2 separate regions of the Homo sapiens genome follow, and region 2 is linked to region 1. The links are contacts of gene promoters, found by promoter capture Hi-C in blood cells and fetal thymus (Javierre and others, 2016). All regions are on one chromosome and are shown on one strand. The core of a region is centred on a gene start or on the middle of the fragment in contact, and the rest is flanking DNA. Distances in the headings are between cores, read along the strand shown. Region 1 holds the start of MRPL51 (mitochondrial ribosomal protein L51). Region 2 holds the start of LPCAT3 (lysophosphatidylcholine acyltransferase 3).

What was found. Contacts are between HindIII fragments. The CHiCAGO score rates a contact against its expected background, and 5 or more counts as called.
Region 2: a contact is called between the fragment with the promoter of LPCAT3 here and the fragment with the promoter of MRPL51 in region 1, in 1 of 17 cell types (non-activated CD4 T cells). The highest score is 6.9, in non-activated CD4 T cells.

The regions. Positions count from the first base shown.
Region 1 is chr12:6,488,172-6,495,508 of GRCh38, forward strand. It overlaps MRPL51 (mitochondrial ribosomal protein L51), which reads right to left and starts at 5,091. Exons shown (of 3, transcript NM_016497.4): 1 at 4,887-5,091; 2 at 4,691-4,801; 3 at 3,715-4,296. The coding sequence starts at 4,965. The coding sequence ends at 4,100. NCAPD2 (non-SMC condensin I complex subunit D2) reads left to right here and starts at 5,931. Exons shown (of 32, transcript NM_014865.4): 1 at 5,931-5,983; 2 at 6,905-7,054. The coding sequence starts at 6,928. RefSeq lists enhancers at 5,309-5,358, 5,526-6,123 and a silencer at 5,559-5,888. The HindIII fragment of the contact is 4,003 bases long and covers 4,896-7,337 here.
Region 2 is chr12:7,015,029-7,022,365 of GRCh38, forward strand. It overlaps LPCAT3 (lysophosphatidylcholine acyltransferase 3), which reads right to left and starts at 3,448. Exons shown (of 13, transcript NM_005768.6): 1 at 3,246-3,448. The coding sequence starts at 3,396. RefSeq lists a silencer at 3,799-4,058. The HindIII fragment of the contact is 11,114 bases long and covers 507-7,337 here.

The DNA.
Region 1 (7,337 bases), core at 3,841-6,340:
CCTTAAGACAACTCAGTGGTCACCTCTTCTCTAAAGCCCTTCTCGTCCCCATTCCTGCTTCCTCAGGAAAAGATAGGTGTCTCTTCCTCTCCACACCTATACACATAGCTATTAACAAACTTTAAATGTCATGACATACTGGATTTCATAACTATGCTTCTTCATCTGCCTCTTGCACTGGGTGGAATTCTTTTTTCCTTTTTTTTTTTTTTAAAGGCAGGATCTTGCTATGTTGCCCAGGCTAGAATGTAGTGGCCTGATCTCAGCTCACTGCCACCTCCACCTGCTGGGCTCAAGCCATCCTCCCCCCTCAGCCTCCTGAGTAGCTGGAATTACAGGCATGTGCCATCATGCCCAGCTAATTTGTTTTTTGTATTTTTTTAGTAGAGATGGGGTTTCACCACTTTGGCCAAGCTGGTCTTGAACTCCTGACCTCAAGTGATCTGCTCACCTCGGCCTCCCAAAGTGCTGGGATTACAAGCATGAGCCACTGCTCCTGGCCTCAAGAGCTCATTCTAATGCCATCTTTTCAACAAATACCTTTTCTGATCATCCCCCTCAGCAAAAAAAAAAAAGAAAAAAAAAACCTGTCATGGGACTCGCTTTCATTATCATATTTAAATTTACATTTTGTTTACATACACATCTCTTCTTTTTTTCTTTTTTCCAGTCTTACCCCTGTATAAACTGGATGAAGCTGCTGCCAATTTAACCAAGTGGGAATCCCAGTGCTAATTGTCTGCTGGATGGGATATCTTTATTGGAGCAGATTAACATAGCCTCACATTTGTGGTTTGTGACCACTGATTTAGCAAATACATTGTTTTTCTTTTTTCTTTTTCTTTTTCTTTTGAGACAGGGTCTTGCTTTGTTGCCTAGGCTGAAGTGCAGTGTCACAAGCTCAGCTCACTGCAGCCTCGACCCCCAAGGCTCAAGCAATCCTTCCACCCAGCCTCCACAGCAGCTGGGACTACAGGCACATGCCACCAACGCCTGGCTAATTTTTTTTTTTTTTTTTTGTGGAGACAGCATTTCACCATGTTGCCCAGGCTGATCTCGAATTCCTGGGCTCAGCTGATCCTCTCGCCTCAACCTCCCAAAGTGTTGGGATTACAGGTGTGAGCCACTGCACCTGGCGAACATCCTTTTCTTTTTTGTTTTTTTCCTTTGAGACAGAGTTTCGCTCTTGGTGCCCAGGCTGGAGTACAATGGCACGATCTTGGCTCACTGCAACCTCCACCTCCCGAGTTCAAGCGATTCTCCTGCCTCAGCCTCCTGAGTAGGTGGGATTACAGGCATGTGCCACCAGGCCCAGCTAATTTTGTATTTTTAGTAGTCAGGGTTTCTCCATGTTGGTCAGGCTGGTCTCGAACTCCTGACCTCAGGTGATCCGCCCACCTTGGCCCCCCAAAGTGCTGGGATTACAGGCCTGAGCCAGCATGCCCAACCAACATTCTTTTCTAAAGCATGTTGGTCAGAAGCAGTCCACCACGGAGGGGATGAACAACAGTATACAGTCATGGTCTTTCATCAGGGCTATGTTAATTCTGTTCTCTGTCATGATGTAATCTAAAAAATGTGGACCATTTGCACATTCTGCAGAGTATCACATTGGTCCACCATCTTGTAACTTTACATCCTTCAGACGTCTTTTTTTTTTTTTTTTTCTTTTTTTAAAGACAGAGTCTCCCTCTGTTGCCCAGGCTGAAGTGCATGGTGCAATCTCAGCTCACTGCAACCTCTCTGTCTCCCGGATTCAAGCGATTCTCCTGCCTCAGCCTCCCGAGTAGCTGGGATTACAGGCACACACCACTATACCTGGCTAATTTTTTTGTATTTTTAGTACAGACGAGGTTTCACCATGTTGGCCAGGATGGTCTTGATCTCCTGACCTCGTGATCCGCCCACCTAGGCCTTCCAAAGTGCTGGGATTACAGGTGTGAGCCACCGGACATCTTTTAAGTAGAATGAAGACTACTTAGAGGTAGGAACCAACCCTACCTTGGTGATTTTTGTTCCTCCAAATATCTTTGCACATAATAATTCAATATTTATTCAAAGAAAACGTTATATACTGTTTCATACCACAAACAAGATTGTTCTGTCCTTGAAAACAAAACCTTTTGTATCTTTGAATCAGGAAATATTCTATAAATGCCTATTGACCTATTAATTTCCTCTTCCCTAACAATCAGATACTCTACCAGGATATGTAGATATCTTCTTCAGGGCACCTTGCACTTAGCAGAGTCCCAAATATTTTATTTTCTCCACTCTAGCACCACCAAATCATGTAAAGTATACAGCCACTCACATTTCACATCAACTTCTCCATTCTTATGCATAGCTCCTTCCAGCCACCCCTCTGAAAACTGACTCTCCTAAACATTTCCGTAAGACCCAGGATCATGTTTTCATATATACCCATCAATCCATTTATCCAAAACCCACTTGTAATTTAACAAGTGCTTTTTATTTTTATTGAAGATGGGGTCTTGCTATGTTCCTAAGGCTGGCCTCCAACTCCTGGTTTCAAAGGATCCTCCCACCTCAGCCTGCAGAGTAGCTGGGATTATAAGTGTGCTCCAACCACCATGCCCCGCAACAAGTATTTATTAATCTAACTTCACTTTTATGGAGTTTTTGTTTTTTAAAATATAGAGATGGGGTCTTGCTATGTTGCCCAGGCTGGTCTTGAACTCCTGGCTTCAAGCAATCCTCATGCCTTGGCCTCCCAAAGTGTTGGGCTTACAGGTGTGAGCCACTGCACCCAGCCCTAACTTCACTTTTTTTTTTTTTTTTTTTTTGAGACAGTCTCACCCCAGTTGCTCAGGCTGGAATGCAGTGGCATGATCTCAGCTCACTGCAGCCTCAAACTCCTGGGCTCAGGTGATCTTCCCACCTCAGCCTCTTGTGTAGCTGGGACTGCAGGCACGCAGAACCATGAGTAGCTGGAACTACAGGCATGCAGAACCATGCCCAGCTAAGTTGTTTTTTTTTTTTTTTTGAGACAGAGTCTTGCTCTGTTGCTCAGGCTGGAGTGCAGTGGCACGATCTCGGCTCACTGCAAGCTCCACCTCCCAGGTTCAAGTGATTCTCCTGCCTCAGACACCTGAGTAGCTGGGACTACAGGTGTCCGCCACCACTCCTGGCTAATTTTTTTGTTTGTTTGTTTTTGTATTTTCAGTAGAGACAGGGCTGTGTTAGCCAGGATAGTCTCGATCTCCTGAGCTCGTGGTCCGCCCCCCTCCGCCTCCCAAGGTGCTGGGATTACAGGCAGGAGCCACCGCACCCAGCCACTTTATTTTTAGTAGAGACGGAGTTTCACCATGTCGCCCAGACCAGTCTCAAATTCCTGTCTCCAAGCAATCCTCCCACCTCAGCCTCCCAAAATGCTGGGATTACATGTGGGCACCATTCTGCCCAGCTGTAATTCTTAAAAATTATTATTAAAAAAGAACAAAACACATAGATGCCCTAGACTCAACTCAGCTCTACTGATCAATCTTTAGGGGTTAGGACTAGGCTTTTGAAATGTTAAAACACCCAGAAAACTGATGACCAGTCAGGCTTAGTATCCGCCATCTCTACCATTCATATGGTACTTAATGTTTCATATTTAAATGGAAAGGACACCTCACACTTTTTTGTTTTTCCTATAGTTCCTACTCAGAGAATATGCCTAATAAATATTTTATGAGAGTAGTACAGAAGTATGACTCCATTTTTCTCTTATATTTCATTTCAGTGTGGAAGGCTCTTTAGAAACACTATTAACATAACAGCATTATGTCAAAAAGCGCCAATAACATTCTCACCAACTTTTCTTTTTAAAGGAATTAGGTATAGCTAGACTGTAAAAGGCAAGTGGTGTGAAGCCCAAACCTAAGATCCTAAGATCTAGGATGAGTCAAGACTTCATAGTCTACATGAGTAGAGGCAGCATCTAGAGGAAAACAAAAGTATGTGGCTATCAAATTCCAAAGAAGCCCCATTTTATTACAGAGAAAATACAAAGCCGTTTCCTCACAGGGAAAAGTACAGTTTCCCTTCTCCAGGGTGACAGATGAGCCTTTTCCGAAGTTCTCAGCTTTCTCTTCTATCGAAACTTCCCATGTCGGTTAAAGTGTTTGTAGAGATAGCGGATGCGTTTATTAAGGTTGTGCAGGTCATCAGCGAACATTCTACTTCCAACCATTTTCCTCTTTCGGATACAACGTTGCAATTCATTCCCTTTCCAACCTCGAAGCCATATGGGCCCCCTGATCAGTTCTTTGGGGTGCTTTTCAAAGTTTCCTGTGTAATGTGAGAGAACACATTAGATCCAAGACAAGAGAACTCATCCTACACCAGCTAAGCTTTCAACCCACGGTTGCATCTTGCTGAGCAGCACCTATAGACAAGGAACATTACAGTACAGAACAATAGCACAGACTCTGGAGCCAGACTGCTTGGGGTTAAAATTCTGATGCTGCCATTTATTAACTTTGGAAAAACTGTTTATTTTTACTTATGAAGTAAAAATTATACGAGGGGACTCAGAACAGTGCCAAACACAATGTAAACAGCTACATAAGTGTTTGCTCTTACTATTGAGCACAGTACCACTCTCTACACAGGAGGAAAAGATAGTCGTTACAGCCTAATTGCCATTCTGAAATTGTGTACCACGTCGAAGGTCAAGTCTTACCCAGGATCCCGATGTTGTCATACACTCCGAACATGGCCCTTTTCTCGTTCCAACGATCAACCACTTTGGGGGGCGGGAGAGTGAGCCTTATACCGATCAATCTAGGCACACCTGGGGATGGGGAAGGGAGGGAATTAATCTGAGCCGCCTATTATACTACGAAGCAGTTATCGGGGTGCCTACATCAGCCACTTACCAAGAGAGAAGCTTCTGCACGCCAGAGGCACCCAGTCCCACAGGCGCCTACCTGCCCCGGATAAGAGGTTCCCTGCCATTTCTCTAGTCTCCCCCCTTCAACAGCACACCAAATAAGCCCAAGAAGATGACAGGAACCGTCCCCGCCAACTTCACACGAGTACTAAGGCGAAGACAGCCATCTTGGGCCTTACCCAGGCAGCTGTGGGCGCACCGCCCACCTACGCCCCATCCGCAACAGCCACGAGCCCCGCCCCCCGGGTTCCGGCAGGAGGGGCCTCTACCACCCTTCCCGCCTCAGTGCTTCCGGTCCGCCTGCCGGAAGTTTTGGAGCGCCGGACAAGCTGAGGTCCGCGACTCGTCGCTAAGATTCCCCAAAACTGAGATTTCAAGAAAATTCACCCTTTCCGCTTTCTTTGGCGTCCTTCAACCGTGAAGGAAATGAAGGTTGAGAACCTGGAACCCGCTTCCAATGACCAAGCCCTTTCTCTGTGCCTCACAACAGTCTTCCGCTGTAGCTGTTTTTATTACCCCTATTTTACTACTGGGGAGGAGATTTGAGGTCCTGAAAGTGAAGTGACTTGCTGGACGTCACTTAGCAGAGGAGATGGCGAAACCTGGATTAGAGGCGATGCCTTCTAACTCCCAGCGTGGACTTGCCTCCTTTCCTGGGGGTGACTGAATGCCCAGCCAGGGACGCGACGTCTCTGGCCAGCAGAAATACGGCCTCCTCCCCGCCGACTGGGCAAAGGGGGACCTTGCGGCCAAGGAGGGATTCGCAGGCGGGCCGGGGGTGGGAGCGGGGGCCGGAGCCGGAGCCTTGGCCCGCCCCCGGGCGGCGCTGTGATTGGCCGGCCGCTCCGGCGGGCGTCGCGATTGGCCGTCCTGCAGCCGTTGAGATTTGAACTCGGTATTTGTGGCTTTGCCCGCGCGTTGCCAGACTCAGAGGCGGCCCTTTGCCTCTGCCTGCCGGGGATTGGCCGGATTCTCCGCCGACTTGAAAACTGCCTTGCTAATTGGTGCGTGTTGTGCACGCGTGTTTTTTCCTTTTCATTTCAGCCTGACTGCCGGAATCAGAGCCGCGGGTGAGATCCCCAGGTAAGATGTGGTGTTGCAGGTCGTAAAAGAGTAGGAAAGTCGAGTACATGGCAGTGTGACCCAGTCTTGGGCAAAATACAATAGGCCTAGTAAGTATATCCCTGGGGCGCGATGTGTGAGAAACTGTAAGTCTGACAGATCCGCAACGGAAGTTGTTAAGCAAATCGCTTAACAGATCCGCAACGGAAGATGTTAAGCAAATCGCTTAACAGATCCGCAACGGAAGATGTTAAGCAAATCGCTTAACTTTCTTACTTCAATTTCCGCTCTGTAAACTCATTTGTATTATTATGCACCTCATGGGATTGAGGTTAGGATACTTAGATCAGATATGATACATGCAAACAGCCTAACAGACTTGGCACAGGATAAATAAATCATCATTGTTAATGCTCTTACCATTCTGGTGCAGGAAGCCCACTAGCCCATGCTGGGGCACTGTTTTGGCCTCAGACGAGATCAGACCATTCTCTCTATACTTAAGGAGCTTTGCACATAAAAATGGAAATAATAGTACTTTGCACATTAATATGCCACTTTATAGTTCTTTAAACACCTTCGTACTGCTTGATTTGTTTGATCATCAGAGCAACTTTGTGAAGTAATCAGAGTTTAGTAACCCTGTTTTTACAGATAAAGCCCAGAGGTTTAAGTGTCAAGACCAAGTGCCAAAGTCACTACTAGAATTAGTTTCTAGTCCAGGGTCAATCTCAGATCCCGTAAGATAATGTTACTAGCTTGCTATAAAACTAAAAACCATTATATATGTTGGGGGTGGGGAACTAACAAAACCAGATGATGTTACTAGCTTGCTATAAAACTAAAAGCCATTATATATGTTGGGGATGGGAAAGTAATAGAACCAGATACGAAGACAGGTCTTGAATATAGACCCTGACTTTTTCACTGTTTGGTTTCTAGCCCTGTGAGCCTGTAGGAGTAGAATGGCTCCCCAAATGTATGAGTTCCATCTGCCATTATCCCCAGAGGAGTTGTTGAAAAGTGGAGGGGTGAATCAGTATGTTGTGCAAGAGGTACTGTCCATCAAACATCTTCCACCACAGCTTAGAGGTAAGAGTCCATAGCTGTCACTGTACCTAGCTCTTTCAAAGGACCATCTCACATGGAATTGCTACATTGTCATTTCTGTTCCACTACACCAGGAAGCATCATAAGAGCAAGAAACATGTTTTTCCTATTTTGCTGTTTTATCCTAAAATTGCATGGGATGCATGACCCAAAGAGTACATTCATTAACTTCCTTTTCTGGATTAGTCAAAAACAGTCTTGGTGTATGTGATTACTCTTTGGGGAAAAGTTATTTTCCATCTTTACCCCTTACTGTGTGTCAAAA
Region 2 (7,337 bases), core at 2,198-4,697, 530 kb after region 1:
TACGTGTATACACATACAAGTCTGTGTGTTCTGGGTCACAATGTAAAACATATTTCTTACGATGGATCTTAGTCAAAAAGGTTTAAAAGCCAGTGCTTTAATGCTCTGCATTCCACCCCAAGATCAGCACACAGAACTGAAGTAAAAAAAGTAAGATGTTAAGAAAATAGTAATTAGACTATCTGATTAAAACGTACACTTGAAAATGTGAATGATATACCTAACTCTTCCCTTGGGGTATTTGCATTTAGGGAGGTGTTTTTAACCTGAATTAATCTAATCAGTGGAAAGTGAACCAGAAATCATTTTGGACTACAGGCTTTCTTGGTACCTCCAGCAAGGATTTCCTCCAGTATCCCAGTTCCCTGAGAGAGCTGGGTTCAAGAACCAGGAACTCCACTGCTGAAAGGCTACTGGTTTCTAGGTTACAATACACAGAAATGGTAATAACCTTTGTAAGGGAAACATATTTACAACCAAAATGCACTCCTACCACGCACACATCAAGCTTAATCAATTTATATTTATATGTATGTATTTAAACTGTGCCTACTAGGAATACAATCCTACCCGTCCACATGATGAGCTATACCTGATAGGAGGCAAGTTGAAGCCCCAAGTTGATCTAAAAATGAGAAATACTATGAATTACTGAAGGCAACAGGGTATGTGAGATAGGAAGGCAGGGTGTGGGAAATGGTAGAATGAGCAAGGGGGCTCGGGAGTGTGGTAGATGCATTACACCAAGTGTTTATTACTTTGATGATTGGTGGTAATGAGAGAAGATGAGAGAAGAGGAGTGGGATATGGAGAAAACAATTTCCTAGTCATCTGTATGCCCCGTGACAGTACACAGCAATAGCCCAGCAGGAGTGCACAGGCAATATGTGATTATGTCAACAAACAAAAGTTGAATTCTTTATGTCAACAAACAAAAGTTGAATTCCAAGTCCTAATTCCAGCCCTAACTCCATTTAACAGATTGCCCCTTATAACTGGTTGCTACTTGTGTTACATTCTGAATTTATTGTTGAGAAACCAACAGTTTCCTAACTAATGAATGTAATACAATTTTTTTTTTTTTTTGAGACAGGGTCTTGCTCTATCCTTCAGGCTGGAGTGCAGTGGTGCCACGGCTCACTGTAGCCTCAAACTTCCAGGCCCAAGTGATCCTCCCACCTCAATCTCGGGAGTAGCTGGGACCACAGGCATGGCATGAGCCACCACGCCCAGCTCATTTTTTTATTAATTTTTTTTTTTTTTTTGGAGACAGAGTCTTGCTCTGTCACCCAGGCTGGAGTGCAGTAGAGCTAACTTGGCTCACTACAACCTTCACCTCCAGGGTTCAAGTGATTCTCCTGCCTCAGCCTCCCAAGTAGCTGGGATTACAGGTGCCCACCACCATGCCCAGCTAATTTTTATACTTTTAGGAGAGATGGGGTTTCACCATGTTGGCCAGGCTGGTCTCAAACTCCTGACCTCAAGCGATCTGCCCACCTTGGCCTCCCAAAATGCCAGGATTACAGGCATGTGCCCCTGCGCCTGGCCTAATTTTTTGTAGAGACAAATAAAATGTTGCCCAGGCTGGCCTCAAGCGTTCCTCCCACCTTGGCCTCCCAAAGTGTTACGATTATAAGCATAAGCCGCTGCGTCCTGTCAAATGTAAACACTAATTGCTAATTACAATGTCAAAAATAACTGGGTCAGAAACAAGGATGAAAGAGTAGGAAGTTCAAAGCTGGTGTAGTGCAAATAAGCCTAGACTAGGGTGCTGATAAATTTGGATGATGTCTGGGTGACACTGAGCAAACTGCACAACCCCAGTTCCATTCCATCTTTAAAATCTTACGATTCCACAGAGGAAGAAAAAGGTGATCTTTATTTGGAAGAAAGGAAGATCTTGGTTTGATATGTAATAGGAAAGTAACAATGCTATTAGGCAAGGTTGTTTAAATATGAATTAATGCCTATCCCATTATCTAGATTGGGTTAACACCCTCTGGTGATATTATATATCAGTGTTTCTACTGAATACTGGATAAACGCCAAACTTCTCTCTGGCATTTAAGGCTTTCCACACCTGCCCAACTTTATCTCAAACTTCTCATGGTTCAGACCTCTAACCCTCTGCTCTAGCCCCAGTCCTGTTTCCTTATCACCACTTACAGCTTTTGCTTAATCCTTCCCACTCACCCGCTCCTAAAGTTCTATAACCTTCATAAAACGTTCCAACTGCTTAAATTTTATGTATATATATGTACAGGTACTTCCCAATCTTGGCCCTTCTACAGGACTTTATGGCAATCCTATGTGGTAGGCACTGTTGTCCTCATTTCATAGATAAGGAAATTAGGCCCAGAGGGTTTTGCGGCCTGCGTAGGGTCCTTCAGTTTGTGAGCAGCAACAAGGCTGGATCTGATTTGTTTGCCTTCAAAACCCATACTTTTTTCCATTGTACTATGCTACCTCCATGTATTAAACCATGGAGTGAGGATGCGGTAAAAAAGCCTATAAACCAGTTGTAATACAGCTTGTTGTGGCATAAATTCAGATACACCACATCCTTTGAACCACACGTGTAATAAACGCTTGGAATAGTATGGATCGATTTTAAGGAGGTTGTTAGTCCTGTTTCCCAAGTCCAGCATTAAAATGATATTCCAGGGTAAATGACAGGTAGGTGGCTTGGAAAATAAAAAAAGCAACATGGTATAAAAAGAAAATAGTAGGACTGGGACAGAAAAGAGACGAAAGTATAATATAAGCTGGCAATAAGCAAAACAGGCGCTCAGAATATGAAATATGGAATATGGGGCTGAAAAGGCCGAAAGGGCTAAAGTTAGGGGCCCTATGCCTACCGATGAGATGCGCGCGTGTGCGGGGTGGTTATTAATGACAGAGCAGGACACATGGCCAGACAGTGGAACTCAACAGAGCGACAAATAAAGACAGGTCGTGGGAGCAAGGGTAGAGCCTGGCACAAGAGGGCGGGGGCCCGACTGAGAGGCCAGAGGGCATGGCAGGGGTTGAAGAGAAAGATGAAGAGGTTCAGAGGGCACAGCGCCCCAGACTCGAGACAGGACTTCTGTCTTCCCTCAGTAGCTGTTGGTGTGCTTCAGGATTCACACCCGCACCCGGCACAGCCCTCCCGGGTGGCTCCGGGAAGAGAGGGAGGTCCTGTCCCCATTCCTCCCCTACTCCCCGGGGACTCCGCGAGGGGCGGAGGGAGGCAGGAGGGTCCTTACCCAGGAAGATGGAGATGATCAGCCGCAGCGCCTGTTCTGACGCGCCCAGGGACGTCGCCAACTTGTTAAGGCTCAGCTCCTGGAAACCCGACTGCAGAACCCCCGCCAGCGCCACCACAGTCCCCTCGTCCCCCTCCGCTGAGGACGCCATCTTAACTCCGGGAGCCCCACAGGGACCCCCCAGCTCCGCGCGCCCCGAATGCGGGCAAAACGCTATCGCTTCACCCCCAATTCCGGCTCGGGGCCCGCCCACGGCGTGCGCATTGGCTGGAGGCCCGCCCCGCGGCGCCAGCTCACCCCGTTATTGGCCGACCTGCGCAGAGGGCGGGGCCTAGCGCGGCAAGGTAGGAAGAGGGCGGGTCTGAAGGTTTGTAAGGCAAAGGTGACTCCTGCCGAGAATGCACACGGGGAGGCTCAGGGCTGGGCGGGGCTTGGCGTCGGGACCCAGAGCTGCCATTGGAAAGGTCTGAGCCCGTGGCCCGGCGACAGTTCAACTCCGTTCGAAATGCTCCCAGGAGGAGCCCTCCGGGGCGACCGTCCGGCCGGCCGGTTCGCTGCCTTCCCATTGGCTGAGGCGGGAGCAGGCGAGAGTCTGGACGCGGGGGGGCCGCCCGCGCGCGAGGTTACTCCCGGTCGCCGGCGCTGGGGTTACTGGGGCATGTAACGGGGAGGCGGGAACGCCCGCGCCGCCTTTCGCGCGCCCCCTAACGGCGCCTCCCGGCCCGTTCTTAAATTCTTAGGTTGTTAGACTCGTCGCCTTCACTCCCGGAGGTTCAGCGGAAAGCCCAGTGCCCCAGGAACAGACATTGTCTGCTCCTTTTATTTCATGGATCCCTTTTCCATGCAGTTTCCTGTAGTAAAACATGACCTTCCCCCTAGAGGCGATGAAATTAAGATATGCCTATTTAACACTTATTATTTTAATTAAAAATTCAAATAATTTTGCACTGAGTAATACATGTTTATGATAAAAGTTATAACAGTATAGAAATGTAAAACAGAAGAGTCCTGTTTCCCCTCCCTGCTTTTCATTCTCACTTCCTACAGGTAATCCTGTTAAGATTACGCCAAAAAAAAAAAAAAAAAAATCTGTCGAGCACTTACCATATGCCAGGGACTGTGCTGGGCTTGGGAATAGAATCAGGAGCCCAGAGCCACGGAGTGGGAGGATGCACAAATAATAGCATCAATTAACGTGTTATTGCAAGAGAAGGTAAGTGCTCTGAAGGAAAGGGTCAAGGTTCTGTGAGAGTATGTAACAAAGGAATGCTAAGAGTTTCTTGCAATAACTCTTAGTTACAATAATTTGTGGCGCATTCTTGTAAAATTACAGCTTATACTTCTGTAGCACTTGCACTTTATAAAGCACTTTCATCCGTATTATTTCACTTGCTTTGGCTGCGCAATAGAATATTTATTATGATGATGTCCTCTTACAGACACAGAGGCTTGGAGAAATTAAGAAACTGGGTAAGTTCCTTTACAAGTAAGCGGCAGACAGAATTTAAACCTAGGTCTGTCAAATTCCCTACCCCTACTCCCATTTTGGGCAAGATTTTAAAAAACAAAATATTTCATTCACACGGAAAAGTAGAGGATAATATAACTTCTCCAGGTTAAGAAACAAACATCACCTATACATTTGAAAAGCCGGTATATCCCTTCCTGAGGGCATTTCCCTCCTTCCTTTCTCAGAGGTCACCACTTTGCTGACTTTGGTATTTATCAATCCCATGCCTATTTTAATACTTTACATACAGCATATATCCAGAAAGGAAAATTAGTATAGTTTTGCATGCCTTATATTGGCCGGGCACAGTGGTTCATGCCTGTAATCCTAGTACTTAGGGAGGTTGAGGTGGGAAGATTGCTTGAGCCCAGGAGTTGGAGACCAGCCTGGGCAACATAGACCCTGTCTCTACAAAAAAAATAAAATAAAATTTAGATGAGCATGGTGGAACATGCCTGTAGTCCCAGCTACTCAGGAAGCTAAGGTGGGAGGATCACTTGAGCCTGGGAGGTTGAGGCTGTAGTGAGTCGTGATCATGACACTGCGCTCCAACCTGAAAGACAGAGCGAGACTCTGTCTTGCAAAAAAAAACAAAAATTATATATATAGGCCTGTAATCCCAGCAATTTGGGAGGCTGAGACGGGTGGATCACCTGAGGTCATGAGTTAGAGACCAGCCTGGCCAACATGGTGGAACCCTGTCTCTACTAAAAATACAAAAAAATTAGCCAGGCGTGATGGCCGGCTCCTGTAATCCCAGCTACTTGGGAGGCTGAGGCACGAGAATCACTTGAACCCGGGAGATGGAGTTTCATGTGCGTCCGTGTGAAGAGACCACCAGACAGGCTCTGTGTGAGCAACAAGGCTGTTTATTTCCCTGGGTGCAGGCGGGCTGAGTCCGAAAAGAGAGTCAGCAAAGGGTGGTGGATTATCATTAGTTCTTATAGGTTTTGGGATAGGCGGTGAAGTTAAGAGCAATGTTTTGTGGGCAGGGGTGGATCTCACAAAGTACATTCTCAAGGGTGGGGAGAATTACAAAGAACCTTCTTAAGGGTGGGGGGATTACAAAGTACCTTCTTAAGGGTGGGGGAGATTACAAAGTACATTGATCAGTTAGGGTAGGGCAGGAACAAATCACAATGGTGGAATGTCATCAGTTAAGGCTATTTTTACTTCTTTTGTGGATCTTCAGTTACTTCAGGCCATCTGGTTGTATATGTGCAAGTCACAGGGGATGCGATGGCTTGGCTTGGGCTCAGAGGCCTGACATGGAGGTTGCGGCGAGCCGAGACCATGCCATTGCACTCCAGCCTGGGCAACAAGAACAAAACTCCGTCTCAGAAAAAAAAAAAAAAAAAGCTGGGCATGGTGGCTTACCCCTGTAATCCCAGTATTTTGAGAGGCTGAGGCGGGCGGATCACCTGAGGTCAGGAGTTCGAAACCAGCCTGGCCAACGTGGTGAAACCCTGACTCTACTAAAAATACAAAAATTAGCCGAGCATGGTGGTGGGTGCCTGTAATCCCAGCTACTTGGAAGGCTGAGGCAGGAGAATTGCCTAAACCCAGGAGGCAGAGGTTGCAGTGAGCTGAGATCGCGCCATTGTACTCTAGCCTGTGTGACAGAGCAAGACTCCGTCTCGAAAAAAAAAAAAGAAAATTATATATATATATTTATAACTTCAGTGAAGCCTAAGCATATAGTGTTTATACAGTCCAATTAAACTGCCTTTACAAAATTATGACAGTAAGAGAAATCTGATATAGTTGACTTCATCTTGCTTTTTTTGAGAGTCTTTCTCTGTCACCCAAGCTGGAGTGCAAGCACGTGGTCTTAGCTCACTGCAACCTCTGCCTCCCAGGTTCAAGCAATTCTTGTGCCTCAGCCTCCCAAGAAGCTGGGATTACAGGCATGCACCACCATGCCCAGCTAATTTTTGTATTTTTAGTAGAGATGGGGTTTAGCCATGTTGGTCAGGCTGGTCTTGAACTCCTGACCTCAAGTGATCTGCCCGCCTCAGCCTCCCCAAGTGCTGGGATTAACAGGTGTGAGCCACTGTGCCCAGCCTCCCTCATGCTTTTAACCTCCAAGCTATCTTTGGTCATTCCTGGGCATAAACCAAACTGACTTTGAGAGAAATTTAGTTTATAGTTAAACTTAAAGCAGGGATAATAGCCCTTTCCCAAACTAAGCCACCTTTATAAAACTAATGAAAGGCTGCAAGGTTAGGCTTATGAAAGGGCCCTGAATTCCGCTAAAATGTAGGCATAATTAAGTGATTACCAACCGTTGTTCAGGAGGTCACCAGATTTGTAACTTCCCCAATTACGCCTCTAGATAACATCATATTGTAGAACTTAAGATTGACCTTTTAGGATGTCTTTTCAGATTTTGGCATTTCTGCAAACCCCAGCTGGACTCGTGACTCAGCCAGTCCTATGGACCCCACCCAGAGGTGGAGTCAGGGCATGAGGATCATTTGCCATACCTCTATGATTGCATCCCCAACAAAGCAGCAGCACTTATACCGTAGGCCCCTGCCCACCAAACTGTCTTTGAAAAATCCTAGCCTCCAAATTTTCAG